Regions from separate parts of the Homo sapiens genome. Here regions 2 and 3 are each linked to region 1. The links are contacts of gene promoters, found by promoter capture Hi-C in human tissues and cell types (Jung and others, 2019). All regions are on one chromosome and are shown on one strand. The core of a region is centred on a gene start or on the middle of the fragment in contact, and the rest is flanking DNA. Distances in the headings are between cores, read along the strand shown.

Region 1 (3,237 bases), core at 383-2,882:
ATGCAGTTGTGGAAACTGAGGCTCAGTGATTCACGGGATGAACTCAGTCTCCCAGGTGGTGCAAGTGTGCCCCCAATGCCAACCTAAGCTACACCTGAGGCAGGATGTGGAGACATCCCCGTGTGATTTGAAAGGGACGCACGTGGCGTGGGAGCAATCTAGGTTCAAGTCTCCCTGCCATGGGTCAGAAACAATCCATGATGCATCTTCCCTGAGTAAGAGGGAGGCAAGACAGACTGCAATGAGAGGACTAGCAGTTGTAGGGGTTGCGGGGTGCAGGGATGAGTAGGGGGAGCCCAGAGGACTTCTAGGACAGTTAAACGACTCTGCGTGATGCCACATCGTGTTGTTGTACATTTGTGCAAACCCACAGGACGCACAGCGTGGAGAGTGGGCTCTGACATACGCTGGTTGGGGATGGGGATGTGTCAGTGTGGGTTCCTCGACTGGGACAAAAGCACCCTCGGTGGGGGTGTTGATCATGGGGGAGGCTGTGCGGATGTGGGGGAAGGGGGTGGATGGGAACTTTCTGTACCTTCTACTCAATTTTGCTGTGAACCTAAAGCTGCTCTGAAAAATAGTCTAAATAAAAAGGACTGAAGTTGAGGGGCTGCCCAGGGCTCAGGCTGGGGGCTGTGCTACCGTCCTATGGGGACAGTGTCCTGCAGAGTATGACGCGTGGCACCTCCTGGCCTTCTGCAGTGGACAGCCTGGGCAGCCACTCAGGGCAGCTTGGGTGTGGGGGTGGCTGTGGGCTGCCGGTGACCAAGGGTAGACCCAGCGCCCCAACTCAGTGCCAAGTGCCCTCTGCCAAGTCACAAAGCCTTTTCTTCCAAAGAAGTTGCTGGGCTCTGAGGTTCTTTCTAGTCTAATGTCCCAGGAGGGAACAACTTCAGAGTCACCACCACACAGTCGTGAATGTGTAACTGAAGACCAGAGCTTTTATTAGGATTGAAGGGAAAGGAGCCCGAAGGAGAGGAGAGGGTGGGGTGGGGGAGGCTCCAGAGTGAGTTTCTTGACAAGCTGGCTGTCAGCCATCCTGGGACGACATAGCACCGCCTTCCAGGGGGAAGCAGGTCAGCCGGGGTCGCAGGCCAGGCTTGGGGACGTCCCCCAGGGTTGCCCTCCTCCGACCGAAGCGGCCCACAGGCCTGATCCCGCGACTGGCGTACCAGGCAGGATTGATGTCAGGGGCTGGAAAGGAAAGAGCTGGAGCAGACCATGGGCACGTGTCCCCAGGGTGTGCTGTGCTCCCAGAGGCAGCGGGGCAGAGTGCACAGGCAGGGCCTCTCAGCCCAGTCGCCAGGCCATGCTGGGAGCCACCCGAGGAACAGGCACCCAGAGGTTCTGGCGAGGCCATTTCTGGGCGTGGGCTGGCTTTGGGAAGCAGGAGTTCAAAAAAGCACCAAGACTGACTTCCCTTTCCTCCCGCGCACCCCGTTCCTGCCAGGTTCTCGAGCGACCAGGCTGCACTAGGTTCTGGGGTGAGGCAGGGTGGGGTAAGGGAGGCTGACAGGGGTCCAGGCACTCACTGCGGATCTCCATGGAGTGCCGATGGGTACGACTTGCAGCTCCCCGCAGGGCCAGGCCCAGCATCAGCAGGCACAGGAGCCAGGCCCTCAGCACCTTCATCCCTTGGCTCCTCCGAGGAGGCCCCGCTGGAGGGGAGATCCAAATGAGGAGGACACGGCCTGGGGGAGAAGGGGCAGGAGCAGCGTCACACAGGCATCAGGGTGCGTGTGCACGGAGCTGGGACCTTGGGTAGAGTGAGCACTGTGTGTGAGAGAGAAGTATGTGCATGAGCCTGTGTGCATGTGAGTGCACAGCTGTGTATGTATATGTGTACAAGAGGGTGTGGTGTGTGCACATGGGTGCCTGTGTGTGTGTATGTGTGCAGATATGTGTGTGTATGTGTGTAGATGTGTGTATGTGTGCAGGTGTGTGTGTATGTGTGTAGATGTGTGTGTATGTGTGCAGATGTGTGTGAGTGTATGTGTGTAGATGTGTGTATGTGTGCAGATGTGTGTATGTGTGTAGATGTGTGTGTATGTGTGTAGATGTGTCTGTGTGTATTGTGTAGATGCGTGTGTATGTGTGCAGATGTGTCTGTGTGTAGATGTGTGTATGTGTGTAGGTTTGTGTGTATGTGTGTAGATGTGTGTGTATGTGTGCAGATGTGTGTGAGTGTGTGATGTGTGTATGTGTGCAGATGTGTGTGTGTGTAGATGTGTGTGTATGTGTGTAGTGTGTCTGTGTGTATTGGGTAGATGCGTGTGTATGTGTGCAGATGTGTCTGTGTGTAGATGTGTGTATGTGTGTAGGTTTGTGTGTATGTGTGTAGATGTGTGTGTGTAGATGTGTGTATGTGTAGGTGTGTGTAGTTGTGTGTGAGTGTATGTATGTGTGTGGATGTGTGTGTAGTTGTGTGAGTATGTGTGTAGATGTGTGTGTATGTGTAGATGTGTGTGTAGCTGTGTGTGTGTGTATGTGTGTAGATGTGTGTATGTGTGTAGATATGTGTGTAGATGTGTGTGTGTCGATGTGTGTGTGAGTGTGTGTAGATGTGTATGTGTGTAGGTGTGTGAGTGTACATGTGTAGATGTGTGTGTGAGTGTATGTGTGTATGAGTGTAGGTGTGTGAGTGTATGTGTGTAGATGTGTGTATGTATGTGTGTAGATGTGTATGTGTGTAGATGTGTGTGTAGATGTGTGTGTGTACGTGTGTAGATGTGTGTGAGTGTGTGTAGATGTGTATGAGTGTAGATGTGTGTGTATGTGTGTAGATGTGTGTGTAGTTGTGTGTGAGTGTATGTATGTGTGTAGATGTGTGTGAGTGTGTAGATGTGTATGTATGTGTGTAGATGTGCGCGTGCACATAGCCACATAGATCTCCACGTGTTCCTCTGATCTGTGCTGAGGTGGGAATAAGCACAGAAACAGCAGTTAAACCTGGCTCTCTGCATGGTCCCCCACCCGCCTGTGACCCCATTCTCTCCTCTGCGCAATGAGGTGTTAAGTGAGATGCTTCTGTGCGCGTCAGCCTCTAACGGGATCGGTCACATGTACATTGATGCTCATGATCAGAAAGCCCTCAGGAGGTGTGAGCTACGCGTTATAAAGGGGGGCTGTCATGGAACAGCCTTGGGTCCGTCTGTCCGCCTGTGTTAAGGGATCAGAAGGTGCAGCAGGCCTCTGCACGGCTGTGCATGTTGCACACCCAGGACAGCAGGTTTGTGG
Region 2 (3,237 bases), core at 516-3,015, 490 kb after region 1:
TCCACCTCCCTGGTTCAAGTGATTCTCGTGGCTCAGCCTCCCAAGTAGCTGGGATTATAGGCATGCACCACCATGCCTGGCTAATTTTTTGTATTTTTAGTAGAGACAGGGTTTCACGATGTTGCCCAGGCTGATCTGTAACTCCTGAGCTCAGGCAATCCGCCCACCTCAGCCTCCTAAAGTGATGAAAATATTTTAAACTTCTATTGTGGTGATGTTTGTACAATTGGAAGCTTTCAGTGGGTGAATTTTTGTAAGACAATTGGAGGGAATATTTAGTAGAGCCCAGCAAAGACTGCTTGGCTGGGACTCTGATCTTTCACTGAAGGGCCAGCCAGGCAGTGAGGGAGTGAGGAATCAATACTCAGAGGACCTTCCTACCATCTCTCCCTCTGACCTCCTGCGGGGGATCCCCATTGGCTGAGCCCAGCCGGAAGCCGAGGGCAGGAAGTCTGCAGCAGTTGCTTATACGGCTGGCCTTCTGAGGCATAATGGGGAGGAGAGCATGGAGAGTGGATGGGAGGGACAAATGGAAGACACTCAGCGCACCTAGTCTGGTGACTGTGTGGTTGGGGCCCCAGTGATGGTAGAGTGGCCTCTGTGCTGCAGGGCATGTGTCACCAAGCCCCGGAAGCCCCAGGCAGGAAGGTCACCTACAGAAGAGAGGAATGTGACATTAGCCCCTGCCAAACCCACAAGAAGAAAAGTAAACACAGATCATTTGCAGCCATGAAGTGTATCAGGTTTAGAGTCCAGCCAGGCAGGCAGGCAAGAGGTGGAGAGTTCATGGATATCAGTGAGAAAGATTTCCAGATGGTTCACCTGGCTGGAGGCCGCAGGACCTGAGGCTAGAAGATGGGCCCCAGGCGATGACGATGGCTCTGCCAAAAAGGGTCTGTGTCAGAGTTGCTGGAAAGCAGCTGCAGAAATAGGCCAGCCCTGAGCCAGCCCTCCTTGTGGCCAGGAGTCCTGGGCTTTCTGCTTAGGGTGGAAACCAACCCTGCCCCACAGCATGAGTGGCTGCCTCTTGGAGCAGGGGTCACTGGGGTGAGAACAGATAGGGAAAGAATGGGATGCATTTATTATTATTATTATTCCTGAGGCATTGAACATTCAGCAGACTAGAGGAGATTACTAATTCTGATGAGTTGTCCTCTGGAGGAACTGGAGTTTGGGGGATGCTGCCATTGGACCATTGCCATTGGACATTGATGTCCATGACCAGCGAATTTTCCAATGGATCTCTTGGCAATGTCATCCCCAGTGGCAGTAGATGCTACCCGTTTGGAAAGCCAGGTAACAATACACAATGAGGGCAATGAAACAGACTTAGCCTTGGACTTAGTGTTCTGGCTCTGGGAAGTTATCCTGAGGAAGTTATTAAAAAGAGGAAATAAGCTACAGCTAAAAATGGGACAGCAGCATAAAGTACAATAGCTATTAAATTCATAAATATGAAGTCTATGTAAAAGTAGTGTTTCTGAAATAACTTTGAAAAAACATGAAAAATAATATTGTGTATACCTCTTGGTTATTATATATCATAACCCAGACTAGATTTTTGGGGAAATGTTGAAAGGAAACATGCAAATGAACATTACGATAAGCTTAAAGAGCTAGATTATGGGTGAAAAGTATCTCCTTACAATATTATAAAATCAATGAAGATTTTGTTCTTCTAATCTTAGACAACTTTAACATTTCAAACTTTAAAAATAGGGCACTTTTCTTTCTTTTTTTTCTCCTCCTTTTTACTAATGCTTGTGTTGGCAAGTGAATAATAAAAGAGAACATTTTTGCAAAACTTCAGAAGGGCCCTGGAGCTAAGGGCAGATACATGTTAGGGGAAATTTGGAGGAATAAAGAAAAGCTGTGAAAAATGATGGCAGTGGTAGAGGCAAAGGCAAAGGGGTTATAAATAAAGCATGGAGGAAGAGCACAGGCAGGCAGCGACCTGAGAGCAGAGCGATGGTGCTTCTAGAGCAGGGTGGCTTCCAGGCACATGACATCATTGAAGGCCGCTCTCACACTCATTAGCTGTTTCCTGAGTCAGGACATATGTCGTGGCTAACGGCGTGAGTGGAAATATAGAACAGGTCATTATGCTTTTGATTTCTAGTTTTATTTTAATTCTGTGATCTCAATGAAGCTTGCTGTATTATGAGGACTGCACATAGCAGGCGTTGCATAAATGTTTGTTGAATGAATGCTAAGTGTGCTCACTTTTCTTTACTTTATTCCCTGAGCACAGGATCTCACCTTGCTTTTACCTTCCTTGTTTTCCATCCACTCTTGCTCTTTTCCTTTTGCCTTCTATGACTCAAGCAGTGGGATCCTGTATGATTCTGTTCTCACACTGCTATAAATACCTGAGACTGGGTGGTTTATTTTAAAAAAGAGGTTTAATTGGCTCACAGTTCCACAGGCTGTAGAGGAAGCATGATTCTGGCATCAGCTTGGCTTCTGGGGAAGCCTTAGGAAACTTACAATCATGGCAGAAGGCAAAGGGGGAACAGGTGTCTCTCATGGTGGGAGCAGGAGCAAGAGAGAGTGAAGAGATGCCACACACTTTTAAACACCCAGATCTCAGGAGAACTCACTCACTATCGCGAGAACACCACCAAGGCAATGGTGCTAAACCATTCATGAGAAATCCACCCCTGTGATCCAACCACCTCCCACCAGGCCCCACTTCCAACACTGGGGATTACAATCAGACATGAGATTTGGCGGGACAGATCCAAAGCATATCAGCTGGGCAGATGCTTTCAGCTCCCATGGCAATTCTGACAAAGAGGACAAAAGCATGTCCAGATGCTGCTCTCCCCTCATAACTTGCTCTCCTGGATCTCAGTTCAGGGGCCGGGCCAGGAGAGCCAGGGACAGGACAGCCATGTTGACCTCCAAGGAGTCCCCTTCTCTCTTTATAGTTGCCCTCCCCAGTATCATCTGTCTGCCTGAGACATCTGTTTTCTGTCCTGCAATACTTCCTACTTGTTTATGCTGATTACTTCTATCTTCCACATTCTTCCATGCCCACAGAATCACTCAGAACCCTATCCATTCCCACTGGGTTCAGGCTCTAGTACTCTTATCTCGTTCTCTCGGATTTTCTCCTGTTGTGTTAGGTCATTTCCTCCACGCCCAGCCTTTTTGCATAGTTTTCTTGTGTGCAGGCAGCTCTCTTCTAGTCAATCACAGCTGACTTTCCCGTGGAGCCTGGGCATGGCTTCAGAG
Region 3 (3,237 bases), core at 474-2,973, 440 kb before region 1:
GAAGATAAAAGGACTGCAGATGGCACAACTGTGTGAAGTTCAAATCAGACACATTAACTTGAGATTTCAAGTTGGCATCCCAGTGGAGGTGTTGAGTGGGCAGCTGACAGATCATTCTTGAGTACTGGGAGAGGTTGGATAGAGAGGGCAGTTTGGGAGCCATTCAGGGTAAAGCATTCTGATGTCACAAGATAGCCAGGACACCAGGGAACTGACTATACAGGTCCAAAGACAGGGTGAAGCCTTGAGGTTCCCCCACTTTGAGGGGCTGGAAGATGAGGCAGAGGACAGGCAGCCAGAGACAAAGGAGGAAAAACCAGAAGCAGGAGCCTGTACAAATAACAACTGCAACAATCGTTCAAAAGCAAATGTTTAACACCTAAGAGTCTTACAGTTATAGGAACTTTTCAAATAGTGAGCTCTGGGCCGGGCACGGTGGCTCACGCCTGTAATCCCAGCACTTTGGGAGGCCAAGGCAGGCGGATCACAAGGTCAAGAGTTCGAGACCAGCCTGGCCAACATGGTGAAACCCGTCTATACTAAGAATACAAAAATCAGTCGGGCATAGTGGCGGGTACTTGTATTCCCAGCTACTTGGGAGGCTGAGGCAGAAGAACTACTTGAACCCGGGAGGCAGAGGTTGCAGTGAGCCAAGATTGTGCCACTGCACTCCAGCCTGGGCAATAAAGCAAGACTCTGTATCGAAAAAAAAACCAAATAAATAAAGCTCAATCTATCTATCTACCTGTATATCTAGTTACAGAAGAGTATAAAAAAATGACAAATAAAATACTTAAAAGCATAAAAATGTTTACATTAGGGTGCAATTCAAGGGAACAAGTGGAATGAAAACATGAGTGCCAGGAGAAAAACTAGCAAAGGTTTTCCAGCCAGTGAAGTAGAGCTTATTCACATCAAAATAAACAAAAAAACAAAAAAACAAAAAACTGTGATGATGGGAGTATCTGTGGTGGTGGGCATATCTGTGGTATTTATATTCTACACTGGAAACATTTCAAAGAGTAATATAAGACTTTCATTTTTAAATGTCAATATTTACAGCACCCTGGAAGTGACATCCTATGCAAACTTTAAACTTAAAAGGCTCTGATCCATCTCAGATCAGACTGTTGAAAGAGAAGAGACAGAGACAGATGGTGGAGAAGAGGAAGTGAGTGTGAGCGGAGGCAGGAGGCAGCACAGACATGGGCACCAGGGAGTGGCCAGGACTCTGGGATGCAGGGCTGCAGACAAAGGCACAATGACAGCTATTGTATAGAGATGCTGAGACTTAGAGGAAAACATGAACATAATGAGGAAAGAAATGGACGGTTACGGGGAAAGCACCAAATGGAACGTCAACAGCTAGAAAATACAGTATCTGAAATGAAAAATTCACTGGATGCGCTTAACAGCAAATGAGACATTGCAGAAAAACAAACTGTCCAAAATGAGGCACAGAAAGAAAAGTGAACGAAGACCTGCGACCCAATGGAGGTATAATTTACACGTAGAAGTAATCTATATGTAAGACATATATGATATAGATATATAAACTAGAGTGCCAGAAAACGATCACAGAAAAATATTTAAAGAAATGTTGGCCAAATTATTTCTAAATTGGATGAAAACTATAACTCACAGATCCAAAAAGCTTAATAAACCCCAAGTGTGATAAAAAGAAAAAACCACTTCAAAGCACATTATAATCAAACTGCTGAAAGCAGTGATAAGGAGAAAATCTTAAAAGCAGCCAGAGAATAAAATGCACATCGCATAAAGTGGAACAAAGAATCACCACTAACTTGTAAGGAAAAAATACAGAAGGCAGTAGAATGATATCCTTAAAATGCTGAAACTGTCAACTTAAGAATTCAAACTTCAGCAACACTTGACAGAATTCATCACAAGCAAATCTGCACTACAAAAAAATCTTCAAGGATGTTCTTTAGGCAGAAGGAAAATAACAGAGAGGAGAAATCTAGATCTACAAAAGGGAATGAGGGTCATAAATGTTAAGTATGTGGAGACATATATTTTAAAAACAGACTGTAAAGCACAGATAATATATTCTGGGTTACAACATATGTAAAAGTAAAACAAATGAGAACTATAATATAAAGGTTGAGCTGGGAAATGGAAACATACTACTGTTTGTCTAAGCTTCCATCTTAAACATCAGAAAAAGAAGAGCAAATTAAACTGGAAATAAAGAGGAGGGAAATAACAAAGACATGAACAAAATTCAAAAAACAACAGGGCAAAATCAATGAACCTAAAAGTAGGTTCTTTGCAAAGGTCAAAAAATTGACAATCTTCTCATTAACCTGATCAAGAGAAAAAGACAAAAATTACAACATCAGTAATTAAAGAGGAGATACAACACAAACTCTACAGAACTTAAAAGGATAGGATAAGATGATACTAAGAACATTATATCAATAAATTGAAAAATGCAGATGATATGAGCAAATCCCTTGAAGGACACAAATTAGTGAAGCCCACTCAAGAATAACCTAGGCAGCCCTATATCTATTAGAAATTGTGTTTATACTTAAAATCTTACCACAACAAAACAAAATTCCAGAGACAGGTGGCTTCACAGGTGAATTCTACCACTGAATAAAGAATTAATAGGCCAGGCACAGTGGCTCACACCTGTAATCTCAGCACTTTGGGAGGATCACTTGAGCCCAAGGGTTCGAGACCAGCCTGGGCAACATAGTGAGACCCCCGTCTCTACAAAAAATAATTAGCTGGACATGGTAGTGCATCTGCCCACTACAGACGATGGGCATCTGTAGTCCCAGTTACCTGGGAGCCTGAGGCGGGAGGACTGCTTGAGCCCAGGATGTTGAGGCTGCAGTGAGGCGTGATCGTGCCACTGTGCTTCAGCCTGGGCAAGAGAGTAAGACCTTGTCTAAAAAAAAATCAATTAACTAATTAATACTAATTTTACACAAACTCTTCCAGAGAATAGGACACTCCCCAAATGCATTCAAAGACCAGAATGCATTACCTTGACACCAAAATTAGGCAACTCATTACAAAAAAAACTACAAATATCCCTCACAGACAGGTAAGGATTTGTAAAAATTCTTAACAAAATACTAATATATCAAACTGAGCAATATATGAAACCATTAACACATAATACATGATGAATTATGGTTTATCTCACAAATGCAGCTTTGGTTCAACATTTGAAAAATAATCTATTAATGTAATTTACCTTAT

Evidence for each region. Contacts are between HindIII fragments. The study calls those that stand out against the background at their distance.
Region 2: a fragment that was not itself captured here is called in contact with the fragment with the promoter of PRLH in region 1 in 1 of the 25 tissues and cell types used here (dorsolateral prefrontal cortex).
Region 3: a fragment that was not itself captured here is called in contact with the fragment with the promoter of PRLH in region 1 in 1 of the 25 tissues and cell types used here (liver).

The regions. Positions count from the first base shown.
Region 1 is chr2:237,564,969-237,568,205 of GRCh38, reverse strand. It overlaps PRLH (prolactin releasing hormone), which reads right to left and starts at 1,632. Exons shown (of 2, transcript NM_015893.1): 1 at 1,533-1,632; 2 at 1,031-1,194. The coding sequence starts at 1,632. The coding sequence ends at 1,031. The HindIII fragment of the contact is 10,563 bases long and covers 1-3,237 here.
Region 2 is chr2:237,073,579-237,076,815 of GRCh38, reverse strand. All of the region lies in intron 1 of COPS8-DT (COPS8 divergent transcript), which reads left to right. Among named protein-coding and RNA genes, the nearest start is that of COPS8-DT, 11 kb to the left of the region's middle. RefSeq lists an enhancer at 617-1,186. The HindIII fragment of the contact is 3,711 bases long and covers 1-3,237 here.
Region 3 is chr2:238,007,658-238,010,894 of GRCh38, reverse strand. All of the region lies in intron 4 of UBE2F (ubiquitin conjugating enzyme E2 F (putative)), which reads right to left. All of the region lies in intron 4 of UBE2F-SCLY (UBE2F-SCLY readthrough (NMD candidate)), which reads right to left. Among named protein-coding and RNA genes, the nearest start is that of UBE2F, 42 kb to the right of the region's middle. The HindIII fragment of the contact is 3,461 bases long and covers 1-3,237 here.